Regions from separate parts of the Homo sapiens genome. Here region 1 is linked to region 2. The links are contacts of gene promoters, found by promoter capture Hi-C in blood cells and fetal thymus (Javierre and others, 2016). All regions are on one chromosome and are shown on one strand. Each heading gives the region's core, a stretch centred on a gene start or on the middle of the fragment in contact. The rest is flanking DNA. Distances are from core to core; before and after follow the strand shown. Region 1 overlaps DAPK2 (death associated protein kinase 2). Region 2 holds the start of HERC1 (HECT and RLD domain containing E3 ubiquitin protein ligase family member 1).

Region 1 (5,170 bases), core at 354-2,853, 81 kb before region 2:
GGGGTTGGAGGTGCAATCTGCTTGCAGTTCCTAAAGAAGACCTAGTATCTAGAGAAAATCGTTGTGTGGGGGGTGGAGTTGGGGGAGTCGCCTCTTCAGTAAAGCCAGGATTCCTTTTTCATGCCTTAGCAGCGGCTGCTGCTTCCTGCCCCTGCCTGTGGATGTTGGTACTGACCTGGCACACCCCACTGGACTTTTTCAAAGGCATTTGCAGCTGCATAAACAAAACTTGACTACCCCACAGTTTTCTGTCTTCTTGCTTCCCTTTTGGACATTTTTCCAAGACACCAAACACACTCCTAGGAGCCTGGTCAGAATCACCCAGGGCTCCCTGGTATCACGGATGGACCACAAGGCCAGAAGGCGGGCACTTTCTGTTTGCAGGGAGGGGCGGGTCAGGAGAAGGCAGGACACAGTTCCATCTCCCCCTCACACCCCAAGTCGAATCAAAAGTGTTTGTGCCACATTCCCTCTGGGAACAATTTTGCTGCAGAATTTTCACCTCTGCTGCAGAATTTACATCTTTCCAGGCTGAGATGTCAGCATCAGCGTTTGGTGGGGCTCTTAACAACCAGGAAGGCCCATTGATTAGGAAAGGCCAGCCTGACAGAATGATAGCCCCATGCTGCCTCCTCAGGGTTGGTGGTGTTGTGTGTAGCTATAAACAGGGCCCTCAAAAGAATTGCATCACCTCCCATTAATAGCCTCTGGGAATGATCTCACCTGACATTTTAGCTGGGCCCCTCTGCTCAGTGGCTGGCACTGCTGGGCCAGGAGGAGGGTGGGATTCTCATTAACGAGATTCCCCACACCTGCAAGTTGACCTTCCAGCCATGGGCTTAGCTCTTCCTCCCCTGGGTGAGGGTGCCAATCAGTAAGTGGGCAAAAAGAAATCTCTTCTCCCCCAGAGTCTACTAATCCCATCTGAGCAAACTCTCCTTGTGAGGTGCAGGTGCCCCTGTGAGGGTTAGGCTCAAAGGTCATTCATGCCCAGGGGAATTGCAGACATCAGTGAAGTTAGACTTAGAAATGGTTGATGGGTTGGGGAGGGTGCTAAGCACCTTGGAAACGAGATTCTAGGAGCTTGGAGGTGCAAGGGAGAGAGGACTAACAAAAAACAAGCAGTCAGCCCTCCCTACCTGCAAGTTCCACATCCTCAGATTCAGTCAACCACAGATCAGAAATACGCAAAAAGTAAAAATAAAAATAACATTACAATAATAAATGCAAATAATACAGTGTGACAACTATTTACATAGCATTTATATCATATTTGCTATTATAAGTAATCTAGAGATGATTTAAAGCATTAGGGGAGGGTATGTGTAGGTTATATGCAAATACCACACCATTTTATAATAAGGGACTTGAGCATCCATGGATTTTGGTATCTGCGGCAGTCCTAGAACCAACCCTTCAAGGATACTGAGGACTGAATGTGAATAAATACAGAATAGAATATTGGGTAGCACCACGTGTAATGAAGATTTAGTGCCCCGGCATAGTGAATCATGGGGGAAGTTGGCTTGCTACTTTATATAGGGTGGTCAAGGAAGGCTTCCCTTAGGAGATAACATTTGAGCAAAGACTTGAACAAGGTGATAAAGTGAGTATAGGAGAGAGCAAGGGCAAAGACCCGGAGACTTTGGATTCACAGACCAGCAAGTGGACCTGTGCGATGGGAGCCAAATGGACAGGAAGCAGAGAGGTAGAAAATCAGGGTGGAGGGTACAGGCCTTGAGGGTCTCCATGAGCTCGTGGGGATGTATAGAGGGCACAGGGAAGCCACTGGAAGGCTTGGAGAAGGGAAAAGGCAAGGTCTTCAGCACAGATTGGTCACCCTCCATCCACTTTTGTGCCTCCCTTCCAGGGGGGGACTAGACCCAGGGCTGGGCTTGCAGGTGCACAGAGTGGGTGACAGACAGTTAAAGACAGGATCTAGAGGGCTGGACATGGCCTGCTGGTTCCTCCGGCAGCCTTGTCCTTTTCTCTTCCCATTCCTTGTCTTTCTCCTTCCCCTCCTCTCTTTCCTTCTGTACTCTTTGGCCCAAAAGCACTGTGCTTCAGTTTCGGAGGGTGAATAGCCCCAGGTTTTCTCATCTCCCATCCACTTCCAGGTTGCATGCACTCCCCCTCCAGCTTTGGGTCACCCCACCCCCCGCCCCGGAGCTGTACATCCTACTGACTCCTGGGCAGAGCCATGGGGAACCTTTGTGCCCTGACACCCTTTCAAGGTGGTGTGACTGGGCTGACCAGGTGACCTGGGCCCCTCATCAGTGGGAGTGAGTAGGTCCCAGGTCCTGGGATTTCATTCCAACTTATCTCTCCAACAGCTCAGGGAAATGACTTAACCATACAACTATTAAGCACTCACTGTTGTAGGTCCCGGGTTGGGAGGAGAGTAGGGCAGGGCATTGACATAGACAGGAAGAAAGTCTGTGCCCTCCAGTCATTTTCCAGGAGTGGGGTGATTCCTCTGCAAGGCTGGTTCTGAGAGGTGCTGGACTTCATAAAGGAGCATACATGTGCCTTGTTCATGTCAGGGAGGGAGACATGATTTTCTGGAATTTGTCTTGGAGGAGATCATGTCTGAATTGGGCTTTGAAATACTTGAAGGCCTTCCAGGGGGATGGGCAGCAGGGGCTGCCATGGGATGGACCTCCTGCCAGAGGCTGCCAGCTCCAGAGCAGCGTGGCCAGCAGTGTGCACTGGCTTTCTTCCGGTCCCTGATGCCATGATGAAAAATCAAGCGTGGAGGTGTGCTCCGAGCATGGTTAGGAGACAAGACCCACGCCTGGGAATCAATAGGCTCCCTCGCTTAGCATTCACCAGGTGAATGAGGCATTGCGGCAGGAAGGCTGTCAGAGCAGAGAGAAAACCAGAGCTGCCCGGGACCTTTGGAATCATTCTAGGCAGTTCATTTTCTTGAGGTCATGGGGGCCTTTGAGAATCGATAAAAGCTATTGACTCTCCTCCAAAGAAATGCATGTCTGTACATACATACTAAATTTTAAAAATTGAGTTATAATTTATATATCATAAAATTCACCATTTTAAAATGTACAGTTCAGTGGTTTTTAGTATACTCACAAGGTTGTGTAACCACATCACTATCTAATTCCAGAACATTTACATTACCCCAGGAAGAAATGTCATACCCTTTAGTAGCCATTCCCTGTTTTCCCCTTTCCCTAGCCCCTGGCAGCTACCCATCTGCTTTGTTTCTACGGATATGTCTGTTCTGGACATTTTATATAAATTGAATCATACAGCAGGTAGCCTTTTGTGTCTGGCTTTTTTCATTTAACATAATGTTTTTAAGGTTCATCCGTGTTGTAAAATGTATTGGACTCAATTTTTTATGAATAGTATTTCTGACTAATATTCCTTTGTATGGATATATAGGCACATTTTGTTCACAGAACCCCTGAAACCTATCTCTTGATTTCACAAAACCTTATTTTACAAAAGGGGGGTGTTGAAAAGGGAATGGAGAACGCAGGAAAGCTCACAATAACTTATTACTATTTATTGAGTGGTGCTGGGCTAAGCACTTTATATATGCATGATCATATAATCCTTAACAACCCTGTGACATGATATTATTATCCCCATATTACAGATGGGGAAACTGAGGCTCAGAGAAGCCATCCCAAGCTTCTTGGAGAAGTCAAAATTTAAGCTGAGCTCTGACTGCCAGGCTGTGAAAAGCAACTGCACATCCTGTTGCCTCTTGACTTTCATCAAAGCCCTTATTTCCTTCCATTTATTTTTTAATGGAGTATGAATTCCCCGTCTACCAACAAGGCATTTGTTTTGCCAAGCCCAGAATCACCCCAGTGCCCAGAGGGCATCCCAGACTGCTGTAAAATGACCCTCTCCCCAAAGTGATGTGCGATTGGAGGGCCTGCCTCCTGCTATTCCCCTTCAGGAGCTGCTGAGCCTCCAGCCAAGGCTGTGTGTGTGTCAGGCTGTGGTAATAATAGCTGAGAGGCAACTCCTGAACAGCTGAGACATGTGTAGCTGTTGCCCTGACTGTGATGCTCCCACGGTGTGCCCCACCTGGCGGGGAGATGCCAGGGTCAAGCCAAGGGCGGTGGGCATGCGGTGGGTGGGGAGTTCTGCGGCGAGGAGGGTGGCTGCTGTCTGAAGCCCAGCATCAGCTGCCATGCTCTGCTTTGTCTCTCAGCCGGTGGACAACCAGCAAGCCATGGTGCGCAGGGAGTCTGTGGTCAATCTGGAGAACTTCAGGAAGCAGTATGTCCGCAGGCGGTGGAAGGTGTGTCCAGGGTTGGGGCGGCGGGGGACAGGGTGGGGGCTAGGGCGGGGTTTCTGGCTCTCCAGGGTCTCCATGCACATTCTCACCTGGGGATTCCTTTCCTCTGCCTCCCTCAGCTTTCCTTCAGCATCGTGTCCCTGTGCAACCACCTCACCCGCTCGCTGATGAAGAAGGTGCACCTGAGGCCGGATGAGGACCTGGTGGGTAAATGCATGCCCTCTTCTTGGGCAGAATTCTGGGGTAGCCTGGAGCTCAGGGATGGGTGAGTTCCCTTTCCCCTCACAAGGCAGGTGGGTGTTCACTGTTTCCAGCCAGTTCTGCTGGCCCAGTCCTCCTCTTCCCTGAAGGCTGAAGTGTGATCTTCAGAGGAGTGTGTTCTGGGGACCTCTGGGTGGTGCCGGGAGGGGACCACTGATGCAGCAGCATGAACTCCTGGAGGATCTCCCATCCTTTCCTGGTGGGCCTTCAGAGGGGCCGCTGCTGCCGGCTGACCACAGACAACCCAAAATGTATTTCTGATAACCCAAAAGCTGCTTTAGAATGGGAGCTTTACATTCTTTTTTCCATATTTCTATTTCTGCTTTGTTTCAGATTACCATCATCATAATATTTAGACAATATCTTATATTTGATTACTTTATTGCCATTTTGTATACATTTAAAGGGAGTAGCTTATAACAGAATATACTGGTGAAGAGGGTGCCCTCTGCAGTCAGACTACCAGGATTCAAATCTGCCACTTACCGTGTGACCTTGAGGAAATTACTTAACCTCTCTGTGCTGATAGTTCATCATTTGTAAAATAGGGTTAATAATAGTTCCTAAAGATTAAATAATGACATATTCTTCCTCTTCTTCTTCTTCTTTTTTTTTTTTTTTTTGTTTGTTTAG
Region 2 (5,384 bases), core at 1,237-3,736:
GTTAATGCTGACAACAAGGTTCCAGGATATGCTGATTTGAGTATGAAACAGTGTTTTAAGCATGGTGCGGTGGCTCACGCCTGTAATCCCAGCACTTTGGGAGGCCGAGGCAGGCAGATCATTTGAGGTCAGGAGTTCGAGAGCAGCCTGGGCAACATGGTGAAACCCTGTCTCTACTAAAATATAAAAAAATTAGCCGGGCATGGTGCAGCACACCTGTAATCCCAGCTACTAGGAAGACTGAGGCAGGAGGATCGCTTGAACCCGGGAGACAGAGGTTGAAGTGAGCCAAGATCACGCCACTGCACTCTAGCCTAAGCAGCAGAGTGAGACTCCACCTCAAAAAGAAAAAAGAAAGAAAGAAAAAAACAGTGTTTTGGGAAAGAGTGGTGTGGTCAAGGTGAGGGTGGCTAGTAGTCAGGGCTCACTTGCTGACACTAACAGTATTTGCTAATTGTATGCAACTGAACACAGTTGTATTCAATTCTCTTTTACACACAGCTCTGAGGGTGGAAGCTAAGGAGATGGTAAAAGAGGGAGTCTCTTGATTGGTCTTTAAAGTAAGCAGTCCTTTTCTTGAAATAGAATGGGCAAAACCAGGCTGGGCACGGTGGCTCACCCCTGTAATCCCAGCACTTTGGGAGGCCAAGGCGGTCGGATCACAAGGTCAGGAGTTCGAGACCAGCCTGGCCAATATGGTGGAACCCCATCTCTACTAAAAATACAAAAATTAGCCAGGCATGGTGGCACACACCTGTAATCCCACCTACTTGGGAGGCTGAGGCAGGAGAATCGCTTAAACCTGGGAGGCGGAGGTTGCAGTGAGCCAAGATGGTGCCATTGCACTCTAGCCTGGGCAACAAGAGCAAAACTCCATCTCAAAAAAAAGAAAAAGAAAAAGTGGGCAAAACCAGTACAATTTTACAAATTCAAGAAAGACAGAATATCATATTTGTGAGTGACGTAGATGACATCAACAAGTTAAAAGGAGGAGCTTTTGCTTGTTGTTTTTGAGTATGCTTCACACACAATACCCAGATCATAAAGCACTAGCAACAATGACATCACTCCTCATGTAGCTACTCCCTTACATCATTTACCAGAAATACACATTTTATACATAGAAACTTAAAAGCTACACACCTAAGACCCATCATTTAATGAGTACTTAATATGTGCCGTATGTGAGCTTTACATATATTTTACTCCTCAGAGGAACCTTGTGATAACAAGAACTGGCATTATAAATTGACACATAAGGAACTGAGGTTCAGAGAGGTCAAGCAACTTGCCCAAGGTCACACACCTGGGGTAAGTGGGATTCCAGAATTCCCACCAGTGTCTGACAGTGAAGCACATGGCTCCTAACTCTTGGACTAAACTGCCTCATGTGACACACAAACATGTATCTAATTTAACCATGGGAAAGCACTCCCTCGTCTGTCTATACCGTAATTTCTTACATTAGTGACACATTCATGGCTTGTATGTTTGTGTGCTTCTCCTACGCCTCCAATTGGATTGCAAACTTCTGGAACGCAGAGGCCAACTCTATTTTTTGTCCCCAAGTCATCGGTCAGTTTAATTGATGCTCGTTAGAATATCTGGAAGGAAAGACACCATGAAGGTGGCTGGAAAGGAGTAAAACCAGGTACAGAAGGAGGAAGATGGAGATGGGGTATTCACTCAACAATTTAATGTCCACTTGGACCTATGTTAGGCGCTGGAGATATGGTGAGGACTGAGCCAGTCTGTGTCCTTCCCCTCATGGGGTTTCACGTGGAGGTCGAGGTCATGATCAAGGATGTAAGTCACCCAAAGGACACTACTGTGTTCCCAAGCAGAAAAGAAAACCGAGGAGCCAGGCCCTGGCATCTGCAGGGTTCTGGCAGTCCCATAAGGCGCAAAGACATGAACAAGGTGGAAGAGTAGGTCAAGTGAAACGCTTTTATGTGATTGAACTTAGCCGGCCGGAGGGCCGGGGCCGCTGCGATGAGAGATAAAGAGCGTGGGGCGCCGGGTGCGAGGCGGAGATAAAGGGGTGAGGCCCTGGCCCTGCCGCCGGCCGTAACACGTGTCCCTTCGCCTGGCGGCGGGGTCTTCCCTGCCCACCACGAGGAAAAGGGGGCGCACTGCATGGCCCCCCACTCCTCACCACCCTTTGTGAAACGCCCCCAATTGTGCTTCATCTGTGGAGTCAGGTCCCCGCAGGCGGTCGGGGCTGCCCGGATTCCGCGACGGCTGAAGGGTGAGGGCCGCGCGGTAGCAAAGTGTCCCCAGCACCTAGCTTGGCTCCCCTCGCTCCCAAATCCCTTTCCCCTTTTCGCTCAACCCCCAACTCCACCTCAGCCGCCTTCCTCTCGGTTCCCCTTTCACCTCCCGCGCTGGGCCTGTTGGGCGGGGCGAGGGCTCCCGGCTGCGCGAGAGTTCCGCCCAAATCTCGTGAGACTCGCCTGACGCCGCCGCTGCTGCCGCCGCCTCTTACGTCTTTCCCTTTGACAAGTCGCTGCTGCTGCAGCAAAAATAAAGGACGCGACCGCCGCAGCCTCTGCGGAGCCGGGCTCGGGTCGCCGGAGCCGCGCCCCACCCCGCCAGCTCCAGAGCCACGTACGGTAACGCATCATCTACCGTCCTCCTGGTCCTGTGTGTGTGTGTGTGTGTGTGTGTGTGTGTGTGTGTGCGCGCGCGCGTGTGTGCTTTGCCGGCCGCGCAGGGCCGGCCGGGGCCGTTTCGGGACTGCAGCCGAGCGGGGCTGCTGGGGTCCCGGGTGGGCGGCAGGCGAGCTGGGGGAGCCCTCCTGGCGCGCCGCGGATCCCCCGGGTCCCCGGCTCTAGAGGCCTCCTGCCGCCCGGGCGCCTCGGAGCAGCGTAGAAGCCGAGGCGCCCGCGGAGAGGGCCGAGAGACCCGCCCCTCCAGCGGCTTACAACGTCTGTGCCCCGGCCCCGCTGTGGTCGCGTCTCTTTCTGCTTCATTCCTTTATCTGCTGACCAGCTCCTCTGCCCCGGCTGGGGCTCGGTCCGCGGGCGGCGGCCGACTCCCTCTCAGGGTCCGGGGAGTGCCGCGACCCCGGTGTCCCCAGGCGCCGGCCGCCTTTAGCGGGGTGGAGGCTGGGACGACGTGTCTTCCTCCTCTCCTCTGCCTTTGGGTGAGGGCAGCTCATCATCTGCTAAACCTTTCTCCAAATCTCCCGCCCCAATAAAACAACAAATTATAAAGCCTTTGCAACCGGGAGGCGAGGCGGGGCGCATTGTTTAGTCTTAAGCGTGAGATGAGGATGATGATGGTGATGACAGGAGCTACCCCGGGGAACATGGTGAAATCTGTTCTGTGATGGGTGGCAGGTTACTGGGAGACACGAGGAGGACAGGAGCTTGTACCACCTCTCCCAGGAGGTTATGTAAAAGACATGTTATCTTAGAGAGCTGTGAAACACAGGGACAGATTTGTCTTAGTTTAAGAAATGTCTATAATACTTAGAATATAGAGATAATTAAATGATGGGAATAACAAATCTGAACAAACTAACCCATCTTTGTAATTCCATCTCCAGAGGTGGCATTTCATGGTTAACATTTTATTGTATTTCCTAACAGACACATTTTTTTTTATCCTTGCTTGGGACTTCCTCATTCTATATTTGTTCCAAAAATGATTTATTTTATTTGAATCAGTTCTCTGGCCTGCTTGATTAAAACTGGCTGCTAGTTCATTATCACTGGCTGAACTCTGCCATCACTATCTTTTTCACTGGGCCCTTTTCCAAAATGATTGTTAGCTAAGTGGTTTGAAAAATCAAACGTTAAAACATTGTCTGTTTGGGTCTAGTACCTATGTATATATTATATTTTTACAATTCTGTTAGTGGTGGTTGCTCAAAATGGGGCAGTATTTGTAGAAGGGAAAGAAACTATGATTATTCATAGTGGGAAGAAACCTATTTACCTCAGGTTTTATGAAATTGATTTCTACTGGATATTTTTAGACCAAAATTGTTCTGTGACATTGTTTCATAGTGCCTGTTGTGATTAGTGTGGGATGAGTATGTCTCTTTGATATATGTGTTTCCATAGCCTGCGTTTATACAAGCAAAATTGAATGTCCTAGGTGCCTGTCTTATGCATAAATGTACGTATATATGTATAGAGACACACACACACACACACGTATTCTGCACCTATACACATTTATATATCTTGGAAGTGAGTTAAGATGTATTGCTATATTATTTGAGAAAAGATAGCATTAGGAAGGGCAAAGAACAGTCATAATATTTCCCCCAAATCACATGACAAGGTTGTATGGCAGAATGAGATATCTAGGGAGGTTGGAAATCTGGAGCCTTTTAAAAATAGGATAGATTGTCATCTGGGGTTGTTGTTATTGGAATGGATTAAATGGCCTATTAAGGCCTCTTGTAATTCTAAACTTTTATGAATTTTGCGTTCCCTAAGGTTCTTATCATTTTGCTTCTTAAATTTCCAGTCATGCTGTTTGCATGTGACACATCCATTCATTTGCTGGTCATGTATTCCATTTCCAATGCAGGCACCCTGATGTTGCATGGAAGAGAAAGCAAATGTAAATGCGTCACTTAATCTGCTTATTAATATAAACATCTCTTGAAAATCTCAATTTAAAGAAATTTTGGAGAATGTGTTGGTGATTGGACTGGATTGGGTTAGTAGAGGGTGCAAATAATAAATAGTAATAACAATTCCAACGTTCCAAGCATGTTTTCCCCCAAAAAAGTCATACTGAATACTCCCTAATATTTGAAATAGAAAAAAAAGGGGGCTGGGTATATTGAAGGAGCTGACCTTTTAAAATTTTTAAAATTCAGATTTTCAGATCTTAAAATGATGATAATGATGACATCGTGGCTTGGAGAGTGAGAAGGTTGTGTTAGGATAAAAAGAAACTTGTGAAACAAAACTTGAATGTTATAGTTGGATAACTATATAATAGCAAGTAACAAACTTACTATAATCTGTTGAAGCTATTTTTAAAAATTGTAAATAGAACTTTTGGCCAGATTACAGTAGCTCACGCCTGTAATCTCAGCCCTTGGGGAGGCCGAGGTGGGAGGATGGCTTGAGCCCAGGAGTTTAAGATCAGTCTGGGCAACATGGTGAAACCTTGTCTCTATGGTAAATACAAAAATTTGCTGGACGTGGTGGTGCATACCTGCAATTCCTGCTATTAGGGAGGCTGAGATGGGAGGATCAATTGAGCCTGGGAGATTGAGGCTGCAGTGAGCTGTGATTGCACCACTCTACTCCAGCCTGGGAGACACAGTGAGACTCTATCTCAAAAGCAAAATAAAACAAAACAAACAACAACAAAGGTCTACACAACTTTGGCTTAACATACACATGAAATACATT

What was found. Contacts are between HindIII fragments. The CHiCAGO score rates a contact against its expected background, and 5 or more counts as called.
Region 1: a contact is called between a fragment that was not itself captured here and the fragment with the promoter of HERC1 in region 2, in 1 of 17 cell types (megakaryocytes). The highest score is 5.2, in megakaryocytes.

What each region holds. Positions count from the first base shown.
Region 1 is chr15:63,911,217-63,916,386 of GRCh38, reverse strand. It overlaps DAPK2 (death associated protein kinase 2), which reads left to right. Exons shown (of 12, transcript NM_014326.5): 10 at 4,190-4,279; 11 at 4,396-4,479. Among named protein-coding and RNA genes, the nearest start is that of MIR422A, 43 kb to the right of the region's middle. The HindIII fragment of the contact is 4,113 bases long and covers 1-3,659 here.
Region 2 is chr15:63,831,050-63,836,433 of GRCh38, reverse strand. HERC1 (HECT and RLD domain containing E3 ubiquitin protein ligase family member 1) reads left to right here and starts at 2,486. Exons shown (of 78, transcript NM_003922.4): 1 at 2,486-2,607. RefSeq lists enhancers at 2,298-2,427, 1,601-2,464, 2,465-3,330 and a silencer at 2,668-3,097. The HindIII fragment of the contact is 17,710 bases long and covers 1-5,384 here.